2 separate regions of the Homo sapiens genome follow, and region 1 is linked to region 2. Evidence: promoter capture Hi-C in 16 types of primary human blood cells and fetal thymus (Javierre and others, 2016). All regions are on one chromosome and are shown on one strand. The core of a region is centred on a gene start or on the middle of the fragment in contact, and the rest is flanking DNA. Distances in the headings are between cores, read along the strand shown. Region 1 has its middle 530 kb from the start of LINC02655. Region 2 holds the start of SH2D4B (SH2 domain containing 4B).

Region 1 (5,917 bases), core at 1,560-4,059, 640 kb before region 2:
TACTCTCTTCAAGTCTGTATGGAGGCCCCCAGTTTTACTCATGATATTTATAAGTATTAATTTTATCTAGTTCCAAGAATTTATTGAATTTGGGGTTTCTTTAACTCCACTTGTCCCTCTCCTGTAAAATTGTTGACATGTATTTTTATATGTATTTTAGTCATCACCTAATATTATTTTAAAATTTTTGTATACTCAATATTTATTCATTTATATCCATATATGACACTTTCTGTTGCTCTTCACCTCTCTGCATTTGTGGGGCGGGGTAATCTAGGGTTATTTTTTTAAGTTTTCCTAGTGACTGAAGTATTCTGCCATTAACATTTTATTTAAATTTTGTGAGGTTCTACAGGTAATAATCTCTCTCTTTTTTGTGCCTTTTTAATTCCTTAGAGATGTTTTTATTTCAACTTTAATTGTGAAAAATATATTCAGGGGCTATAGAATTCTAGATTGAAACATATTCATTCAGAATTTTAAAGTTGTTTTTCCATTGTATTCTGTTTTCCTGCTCTTTCTGTTGACAACTTGGCTCTTAGTCTGAATGTTAGTGAATATATTAATCACAGGTGTTGTAAAGCCCATGTCTAGTATCTTCAATAACTGGATCATTTAAAGGTATGTTTCTATTGTCTGGTTTTTCTCTTACTTTCTATTAATAAGTTTTTCAGTTAGCTACTGCTGTATTATAAGCAACTCCAAAACTGAGTGTCTCCTATTGCTCATGAATCTACCAATCAACTCCTTGTAGTTCTCATCTCATTTGGGCTCCACTATGTATCTGCAGTCAGCTGGGTATGAAGTTGGTGTATCTATCAATCATGGCTTCACCCTTTCACAAGTTTGAGATGAACTTTAAACTGATCTAGGAAATATCAGATAGATCAAATGGGCTCTGGGCTCTCTTCCATGTCGTCCCTCATTCTCTAATATGTTAGACCAGGCTATTCATGTGGTGGTTATAGGAATCAAAAACAGAGAGACAGAGAGGGAGAAAGAGAAAGAGAGAGAAGTACACAAATCTTGAGCCCTGAACTGATACATGATCACTTTCAGCATATTCATATAAGTCACAGCTCATCTCAACCCATTGTCTGCCTAGATACAACGGATGGGGAAATGTCCTCTGTCTCCTGATGGAAGAACAGCAAAGACATATTGCAAGGAACATAGATTCAAGTAACAATACAATTGGGATAACTTTTTGCAATCTTTAAAGCGCAATGTTTATTTTTTATTTTTAAATTGAATGCTAATTTTGCATTGTATGCCATCCATTTTAGACGCCATGGATGTTATCTTCCTTCAGAAAAGCTTAACCCTGCCCTCTAGATGGCAGTACAGCAGCAGATCATCTCAATGGAGCCACAAATTTAGCTCATTCAAGGCTGCTCTGCAGCCTTTGAAAGGACATATTTATTTCTGTTTTCCCCTACTCCTACTAAGTGACCTTCCAGGAGTCCAGCGAGTGTTTCTGAGGGCCCCTTCTTTTTTTCTGAGTTCTGAATTCAAATATCTGTCTTCCTTGCACCGTGACATTGCCAAAAATTATTCTCTTTTTTTATGCTCCTTTGTGTTTGGCTATTTTGTCACTTGCCCTTTGAAGCTTAATTACAAATGACTAAAGGAGAAAATCTATGTTAAGTATTGTTCTCACTTGCCTGCAGTTGCCTTCTCTATCAGATCTTGGCCTTCTAAATTCTGGTTGTTTTGGCAGCCCCAAAATGCAATTTTTTTTTGTCTCGCAACTCCGTAGGTTGCCTAAAGCTCTATTAGCTTCTCTATCCCTTAGCACTGCTCTACACCTAGCTCCTTACCCTCTTGCCTGTGATAAGATTTGGATAACGCCTTGAGAGATTCTCATTAGCATACAGGAAGTTGGTTTATCTCAATAAGCTTCTCTCCAGGATATGGCTTCTCAACTCCTGGCTGCCTTGCCAGCTCAAAGCTGATGCCTTTAAACAGATTACTAAAAACAAACAAACCTATTTTATGCAGCTTTTCTAGCTGTCTTCAGTGGGGCCTTAGTCTCCTCCAATCTATTTGATTATGGCTGAAAACATAAGTCCATCAGAGTATTTGTATTTTGCTTGTATTTCAAACCCCATAAAACATCATGAGTATTATTTTTAATAGTAAACATTCATTTTATATTTACCCTTCCCATTATTTTTCTTCCTTCCTGTATTTCTTTGTTTCTATTTGGGATCCTACTTTCTTCTGCCTCGAAAATATTTTTTAATGTCTCTTTTAATGTAGTTCTGCTGATAATAAATTCTATCAGCTTTTATTGATTTGAAAATGCCTTTTTCACATTAAATTGGAAGAATATATTATTTGGGTATTAAATTGTATGCCTACAGTTATTTTCTTTTGGGACTTTATATATCTCATTTCTTGTGGCTCATGCTCTTTTCACTGTGTAATTGGCTGTATGTCCTTTGTTGACGTTTGAAGACAATCTGACATTTTTCTTTAAATGGTTCTAAAATTTTTCAATATTTTTTATTTTCAGCAATTTGGCTACGATATGCCTTAGTAGGATTTTCTTTGTAATTACCCTGCCTTTTTTTTTTGTTTCAGCTCATTGACTCTATGACTTTATATCTTTTATCAGATTTTAAAAATTCTTAACCATAATCTCTCCCAAATATTATCTCTCTTTTTGCCTTGTGGGTATCCAATAGATAAGAAAACTTATCAGTATATTCCACCTAAGATATTATAGTCATTATTATATTTTTTGACTCTTTTTTCTCCATGTCTTACTTTGAAGAAGTCCTAATGCCCTATTTTCCGGAATACAAATCTTCTCTTTAGCTATAAATAACCTGCTATTAATCCTATATATTGTATTAATAATTTTATTTGTCATAGTTTTCAATTCTATAGTTCTTCATCCTGTCATTTATTTTTCTGAACATATTTATCAGTTGTTATCTTAAAAATATATATCTGACAACCTTGTGAATCTGTTTTTATTGTCTGTTTTAACTTATTCTTGTTAATTAGTTTTCCAGGTAAGTTTACTGGTTCCTGTAGAAAGTAGAAAAGTTCCTCTTCAAAGCTCATCTTGATTTAAAAATAAAATAATAGACAGTAGGAATAATAGCTTCTTACTCTAAAGCCTTCTATCAACTATCAGTTCTTATACTTTAGCCCAATTAGTTGCTTTGGCTTACTCAGGCGTGTCCAGACAGGCCCAGGCAAGTCTTAGCTCATAGCTGATGCTCCTTCCTTATTTGGAAATGTTATTGCTTCCTTAAACCTTTCATAAGCAACTTCCTCTCCTTCTTTGTTTGCACTTACCTATTTAGGAAAGTTTCAGGTTGTTAGCAAATCGGGTATCAGTTTAGGACTGTGAGGTCCAGCTCCAGCCAATGGATGCAGGACACAGAAGTAAGGACAACCAAAATGCTTAAGGGATAAATATGTCTGCTTTTCCTTTGTTCAAATGTGCTCTCGCTACTGTTCCATCTGTGAAGGGCACCCTTTCTGCAGAAAGTAAAGATTGCCTTGCTGAGAGATCCTTTGTCTCTGTGCTGACTTTTCTTCGTGGCACCGATTATCTGTTTCCAACAGTTCCTAAACATTGTGTATTAAAAAATAAGAGATTACAGATAACGTATTTTTCCAGCAATTTTCTGTACATATTAGCAGGCTATTAAAGTGAAAGTAGATCATTTTTCTACAACCAAACTTGGTTTTAAGCTTTGTAAGTTCTAGTTTCTTTCTGATTTACCCTCAGTTTTACAGTGTGATCTTTCAGGGACCTCAAGTGAAAGCCTGGAAATACTCCACCTGAGAGTGCTCTAAGTTCCAAGTTTCTATTTTTGACAGTGGAAAGAGACTGCTAAGAGCTGAAATTAGGAACTTAAACTTATATTAGTGTTGGTTTTGAGGATGTTTTAAGAAGAGAAGCCATGGACGTTTAGCTGCCCAGAGAGCTTTCCTTTTCTCTGAGATCTTGGCGTCTCAAATCCTAGCTACCTTGAAGATACCATCAAGAAAATTTGTTGTTTTTAAAACTAGCTTTCCATTAATCTTCTGAAGAATGGTTGATCTATTATATACAGCTAGTGCATCATAGCCATAGGCTCATTGCTTCTTTTTGAAAAAGCCATTGTATAACTTCTTTTCATTGTTGTTCTTCAATATCATCATACTTTACATTTTAAAATGCTTTATGGAAAATATTTTCAATATTTAATTCATTATCCCTCATTATTGTCAAAGTGTACTCTACATGGTAACCATGCTATGATTGTACTATGTATGTGTAAAAAATGTTCTTGATCTTAGGAAATAGAAATTAAAGTTTTCCAAGCATATTAGCTGCTACTTTTTCATCACTCTCTCCTCTCCTCTTGGTCTTCTGGAAATAATATTCTGGAAAATACACACCGACACATATACGTGTGTATACACACACACACACACACACACACACATATACATATATGTATATATGTAGAGTAATCCCTCAGTATCAGCAGGGCATTGGTTTCAGGACCCACCACTTGAGGATACCAAAATTCACAGACGCTTAAGTTCCTTATATAAAATGGCATAGTGTTTGCATATAATCTATGCCCATCCACCCTTATATTTTAAATCACCTCTAGATTACATACAATACCTAGTACAATGTAAATTCTATGTAAAAGTTGTTATACTGTATTGTTTTAAAAAATAAGAAGAAAAATAGTCTACATGTTCGGTGCAGTTATTCTTTTTTTTTTAATCCCCTAAGTTTTTATCTATGGTTCATTGAAATCTAAACTATATCTAAAATATAATTATTAATATATTAACTATTTGATACATTAATGTTATGCAATTAATTATGGCATATAATTAAAAATAACATTATATTAGTTTTTGGAAAACATGTATAGAGGGAAGCCATTATAGTTGTTATATAATTGAATTATATTATTTACATATAGATAGGACATAATATATTATAATTAAATACTAACATATAGTATCAGTATCCTGAAAAAATATTAAACATATATACATAGAAAGAGCATGCACAAAGTAAAAAAGTGGGATAAAAATTAATAATGGAAAGATCTGTGCACTGTCTTCAAAATTTTTCTGTGTAAAATTATATCTAAAAAACTGGGGAAAATATTATATTTGTCTATACTTTAGATTTTTTAATGTAAAAAATTGACTTTGTGGAGGTGAGATCTGATATGTAAGTAATATTCATGGAAGCAGTATGTTTAAAAATTTATTTTATTAAAAAGTTAAGTTTCCAGACGAGTGCAGTGGCTCACACCTGTAATCCCAGCACTTTGGGAGGCCGAGGCGAGCAGATCACGAGGTCAGGAGTTTGAGACCAGCCTGACCAACATGGTGAAACCCCATCTCTACTAAAAATACAAAAATTAGCCGCGCATGGTGGTGTGTGCCTATAATCCCAGCTACTCAGGAGGCTGAGGCAGGAGAATGGCATGAACCTGGGAGGCGGAGGTTGCAGTGAGCCAAGACCGCACCATTGCACTCCAGCCTGGGCGACAGAGCAAGACTCCATCTCAAAAAAAAAAAAAAAAAAAAAAAAAAAAGTTAAGTTATAAATGGGGAATCTTTTTCAAACAGATGATTTAAATTACTTTCTATTAGATTAAATTAATTGTTCATTTTGCCTTGAATTGTTTCCGTCTTATTTCTTTAAACAGCTACCATTGTCTCACTAATACATTGTAGACACAACACTTAAAATTAAGCCTGCTATTGACTCAGGCCAAGTCAGTTTATGCTCAGCTTGAAATTAACATATTCTGTTTCATTATGTCCATTTGCAGACTTAATGAACATGTTTCTTTTTCACAAATAATTTCTTAAACTAATTCAGTTTCATCTTCTGTTTATTAATTTTTCAATAACTATTAATTGTGGGAAC
Region 2 (5,914 bases), core at 3,171-5,670:
GGTCACACCCAGCTCTGGCCCTGAGAACCTGGGATGACTGAGTAAGCAGAGAGGAGTCCACAGGGTTGTGAAGTTCATAATTCCTAACACAGGATGTGCATTCCTGTGGTGGCCAAGGAGAATGAGGAGAGAACGAGCTTGCACAGGTCGTGGCCATGCTAGAGGGGTTTGACTGAAGTCTTGCTGGGACATAATGTGATAACATGCCTTCTCTGAGTCTCAATATACTCAATATACTGGACAACGAACTTTGTCAGAAACGTGATAGCACAATAAGCATGATGTTAGATTTAAAAAACCTACCAAGCTGAGGGGTCCACACCATCCACCACAGCATAGAACATCAGAGGGTTCTTGCCAAAGCGTAAAGTGAAAACAGAAAAGAAATGCCATGTGCTCAGAGGAGTGATGTGTCCAGCCGTGCCCTCATCTCCTCTCCTTCCTACCTTTCACAGTCCGCCTCTAAGCTTTCACCCAAGCTTACTTCTGTGGGTTCCAAATGTGGATCTCAGAATCAAGAAAACCTCCTAGGTTCTGTAAACGAGAATGATTCACATCACCAGTGTTTACTCGCACCCTCACCAGGCACAACTCCGGGGCTGTGAGGTTCTCAGGCACAAGGCACACCTTGTCCTGCCTGCCTGTCTGTAGGGACATGGGGAGTGTTACTTGAGCCCAAGGGATGGCAAAGCCAGGCTTGCCAGGAGCGAGGAATGTTCCCAGAAAAGAGGGGAGAGGGAAGGCTTTAGAGCACTGGGGACGATGGCCCGGAGGAGGCCCAGTGTCACTCTAGGCTGACCAGGACTAACCCACGTCATGCTCAGGGATCCCAAGGGGCCAGCAAACAGCTCAGCAGGGCTACAGCAGGTGCTTCCTTCAGAAAAAAAATGTGTAGGGAGGGGACCAGGAAAGAGGATGCCTGTCAATGAGACAAGAATAGCACTGGGTGGTCACAGGAGCATGGAAAAACCCAAACAACAGCTAAAACAAGAACAAGACAAAGAAACAACAAGATAACAGAAAACCCAAAGGAAGAGAGTAAAAACAGCTGAAATCCCACTCAGGGTGACTTGTCCATGGCTCTTCTGGGCAAACCCAAAGAAGGGAGAAAGGAGACAGTAACCCAGGGGGTTCCCTGAAATCTCCTCCTCTTCCAGAACACCTAATAATTGTTCCATCCCCTAATTAAAGAAACACCCATAAAATTAGAAACCCAGACTCTGCTGGGTGTGACACGTTCTCATGAGCACGCCCGCACTTCTCTCTCAAGTGTGTACTTTCGCTTCTCACTAACAGTTTCTTGCCTTTCCTATCATTCTGACTCATTCCCGAGTTCTTTCTCAAGACAGTTTCAAGAGCCTGGACATCAACTGGGGCTGGGGTCTCACCAGCATCTGGAGAGCCTCCTGAGTCCTCTGGCAACATCAAGGGAAGGAAGAGAAGATTCCTCCGTGGAGCCCGTCCCCGCACAATTCCCGCCCTGGGACACGGCACGGCTGCTTTGAACCAAGCCTCACCCTTGGCACTCGAGTTGGCTGTGTTCCCTATGATCCATCTACCCACCGTCTCCAGGACAAGCACTGCCCCATTCACTGAAATCAGCACATAGTAATGCTGGATAAGTGAATGAATTGGTGAATGAGTGAACAAGTGAATGTGTGCACAGCTCACTTGTTTAATTGGAGTTCCGAGTTTGGAAGTGAATGAACAGAAAAAAAATCAGTCACCAGACCCCAGATCCAAGTCATGAGATGTAGCAGCTGGATGACCTTGGATGTAGCGCATCACTTCTCTGAGCCTCACCTTCCTTATCTGCAATGAAATCAGGGAGCTTGCCCTGCCACCCCGCAGGGACACGGGAGCAGCAAGGGCTGGGTAGGCACCCAGTCAACGTAAAGCTCACAAGTTGTTGCCACCCTTCATCACGACCCCAGGACATGAAGCAGATACTGTATATCCTGGACCCTCCGGCCGAAAGCTCTTCCGGCTCCTGGGCAGGGCCAGCCCCCAGGCTCCCCAGTGGCATGCCCAGACAGTTCCAAAAGGCAGGACCGAAGCAAAGAGCCAGGATCCAAGCGGGATCCTGACCTGGGATACACACATTCCTCGGCGTGCTTTCCTGCTTTTCCATTCTTTATAAATCAGAAAATTAATTACCAGAAAAAGGATCTTCTGCACCAGAAACTCAAATGAGTTTAATGTATAATTTATACATGAAAATGTAGATGTCTATGTGTGACAAATCTCTGTATAAATATTTTTGCAGTTAAATTTTTAGGCATCTGTCTCCCTCCAAGAAGAGTCATCATGCAGGCATCATGAGTCCCCAGGGCTCAGGCCGGGTGGTGCTGGCAAGGTGGCTTGTCATTTCACCAGTTAGTGATGCAGCTGCCAGCGCAGCCCAGCCCGGAAGGCCCCAGCTTTGGCAGCAGCCACCTGCAGCCAAGTCACAGCTCTGCCCCAACCTCCCCGGCAGGGTCCTGCTGTGTCTTGTTCAAAACAAGGATTTAACACCATGTGCCACCTCTGTGCTGGGCCCAGGGGAGGAAGATAGAGTGGAGGAAGCCCTCACACACCAGTGCCTTTGAGCCCATCGGAGAGCCAGGCAAGCAGATGAGGAATGACAATGACAGGGTGGCAAATGCCAGGGCAGGCGTGGGTCCTACATGCCAGGCAGCCACAGAGGAGCAAGTACTGCCCTATGCAAGAGCATCCCTGAACACTCCAGGGCAGGGGGGCCACTCCTGATGGAGTCTGTCAGGTGGATGAAGGCAGAAGGACATTCCCAACGGTGAGAGCCACTCATGTGAAGACCAGAGACAAGAGCAAGCATGTCCAGATGATGTGGGTGTGGCCTGTGGCACCTGGTGGGGACTGGCCAGCAGTGAGCCTGGCATGGAGAAGAGCCAGATCACCAAGGGAGCTGTGTGCTCAGCCCTGAAACAGGACTTTGTTCTGGATTGAAAACTTCAAAGGGTGAAGGCACATAAGCCTTGCAAACTGTAAAGTGCATGCAGCATCCACAGAAACTACAATCCCTGGCAGGATTGAGTCCTGTGCCAAGCCAAGCCTCAGCAGCCTGCCAGTTTCTGGCCCAGGGGTCCTGGATGATTTCCTTCACCCACAGGTGTACCAGTCCATAGGATTGACTGGCACATGACTTTGCATACAAAACACCTGAAATGTAGGCTAGGCCCTTGCTTCTCATCTGCAGTTGCTACGACCATTTGGGGATGGTCATTCATTGTGTGGGACGTTCCCTGATGCCCTCTCTCCGGATGCCCAGTGGGGCTCCAGAGACAACCCACAGCATCCTCCTGCCGGAGGATCTGGAGGGAGAGGCACAGTCCACAGAAGGGGCCCTAGCCAAGAACTGGTGTGCCACGCATGCCAAGGAGAAAGGAACTGCATATCTACACCACACTCTGGCCCAGAACCAATGGCAAGGGTCACAAATATGCCGTCGTTCACCCTACCATTGCCAACCACGTCGGAGCACAATCTGAAGTCTCAATGGTGTCTTCCCAGAACTCGGGCCTTCCACAACAAGACAAAGCAAGTCCCAACTCCCCGACTCCAATAAGGGCCGCTGGACAGCCTCTGCAGCAGCCTCGAAGCCCTAAGGTCCTGGCCAAAAGGCAAAAGCACAGGCTCATGGGACCTGATGCCCACAAGACAAGGGTTTCAAGCCCCCAGCCCTCATCACCCCAGTGCCCATCTTGAAGAAGGGCACAGCCTGGCCCTGCTAATTTTTCTACCTCCTGGGGGACTGGTGGCCTACCTCTCTGTGACTCCCAGCCACGTACCTCGCTTGGTCTTTGGAGGCCTGAGACCCTCGTCCTGGGCCAGGGCCTCCCAAGTCTCCCGCTCCTTCCAGCGCCTCAGCTGCTCCTCCCGCATTTTGTAGAAGAGGATGTGCTTCTGCACATCGCTGAGCTCGGCAAGGAGCTCGGGGTCGATGTACATGTCGTGCAGGATCTGCTGCAGCATGATGCCACCTGGGATGCACGCACCAGAAGGGCAGCCAGCAGGGGAAGCAGGGCCAGGCAGAACGCCCGAGGGGCTGCTCTGCACTACGGACTGCTCAATCCGGGGCCACTCTCGGTGCCCCTTCTCTGTGCAGCATTGTCAGTTGGCCTCAGCTTGCAGCCAGCGACGAACTCATCTCCTCTACCCAGGACAGCAAAAGAGGCCAGGCAACAGGACCCAAAGGGGCAGGTGGGACTCTGCAAGGGGGAGCAACCACCAGGAGCAATCTAGTCCTTCTCCTGGGTCACCAAGCACGGCATCCCAGGAGAGCCCATGTCTTGGCATCACCTGGGGTTCTGAGACAATGGGAAGGGCCCAAGCCTCCAGCTCAGCCAGGAAATGCCCAGTCCCAGCCCTGCCTGGGCTGGTAGGTGTCGAGTGATCTGTTAGTGGAAGGTAACAATGACACCAGCTATATCAATGACACTGCCCCGGCCAGCTGGGAACTGATCTCTCCTCTGCAGATAAGAGGAGGAGAAGGAGGCAGACTTGCCTACTAAATTCCATGTCTTTTCAGCCAATTTCAAACACAGACCAGAGGAGCCTGCCAGAAGCTGCTGGGCCCCTCAGCCCTCTCAGCCCCTCTCTCTGCGGGTTCCTTCGCTGCCAACTTTCTTCCTTTCCAGAACATTTGGCATTCTGAGATGATGCGTTTAAAACTCTGCCTTGGGGGAGGAAAGATTTTTCCTCCTATCTGTGTTACAGCCAAGAAAGAAAACAAAATGGAATCAGTAGAGACAACTGGAGGGGATTTTATCTTGGAATTCCAGGACAGAAAGGAAGCAGACATCCTTTCCCTTTGGCCTATATATAATGAGATCCTGCAGCCATGCGTGGCTGACAGATAAACCCTCCAGGGGCCAGTTTTAATGGTCGTTGTTAATCTTGTTTGTTGCAGATGCCTGGAGTTGACCAAAAAGAAAGAAGATGAAACTGGCTCTTCTCTGTGCCCTGATCAGAAGCACACTGGAATGGCGGGATGTTGCCTTCTGCTGGGAGGGAAGCCACCCTCTCTTTGGTGTGTGAAGGTGGGTAGAAGCTGCCGTTGCTGAGATCTTTAGGGTGAAAGCTCACCCTAAATATGTGCTCAGAGCAAATCACAGATGCCTTCTTATTGGGACAAGGATATTGAAGCTCAGAGAAAGTAAGTGGCTTGCCTATGGCTTCCTAATGGACAAGTCACTGTATTGGGACTCCCCCGTTTTGAAATTTGACATCCACTAGCAACTATGAATCTGTTGATGGTTTGAAAACATAACCCAACCAAGGGAAAACAAACGAACCAACAGGATTTGGCACTGTGGCTTGGTTGGATTGGTGACCTTCCTGTCCCCTTCCTTGCCCATGAGGGTGGAAGGTGGATCAGGTACCCAAGAGTGATGGAAGAGGGGTGGAGAGTTGGCATTCTTCCCCCTCTGCAAGGTTAACACAACAGGAAGATGGACTAAGCAGATTCAGATGAGCTGTAAGCCCATAGGGTCAAAGCTCCTGCTCAGCTAGGCAATGTCCAGGTCACAGGAGTGGAGTCAGACGCCCCACCCCTCCCCACCCAGGTCCAGCTAGCTGGTCCCAGTGTGCCCAGACCTTCCTAGAGCCGCCACAGGACTCGCCTGTCCGCTGCAGAGCTGTGGCCCTGGACTCCCATCCACCCACCTCAGGGCTTGCACCGACTCCCCCACCGGGAGTCCTGGCTCCCCTCAGTTTCTGAGACCGGGGGTCTTCCCTAGCCTCTGCCCAGCTATTCTCTTTCTCCCCCTCGCCGTGGCTGGTGGGAGACCCCCGAGTCCAAAGAGGAGACAAGGGGAGGAAGGCCCCCAGGGTCTGGGCTCCTGCGGGCAGCTTCTTTTTGTCTTTCCCGGGCCGCCAGATACCTACGACCACAAGA

Evidence for each region. Contacts are between HindIII fragments. The CHiCAGO score rates a contact against its expected background, and 5 or more counts as called.
Region 1: a fragment that was not itself captured here is called in contact with the fragment with the promoter of SH2D4B in region 2 in 1 of 17 cell types (M0 macrophages); the score reaches 5.7 in M0 macrophages.

The regions. Positions count from the first base shown.
Region 1 is chr10:81,175,433-81,181,349 of GRCh38, reverse strand. No RefSeq gene overlaps it. Among named protein-coding and RNA genes, the nearest start is that of LINC02655, 530 kb to the right of the region's middle. RefSeq lists an enhancer at 2,532-3,731. The HindIII fragment of the contact is 1,815 bases long and covers 1,902-3,716 here.
Region 2 is chr10:80,536,408-80,542,321 of GRCh38, reverse strand. It overlaps SH2D4B (SH2 domain containing 4B), which reads right to left and starts at 4,420. Exons shown (of 8, transcript NM_001388272.1): 1 at 3,807-4,420. The coding sequence starts at 3,990. RefSeq lists enhancers at 860-979, 1,150-1,209, 1,360-1,539, 2,577-2,716. The HindIII fragment of the contact is 17,935 bases long and covers 482-5,914 here.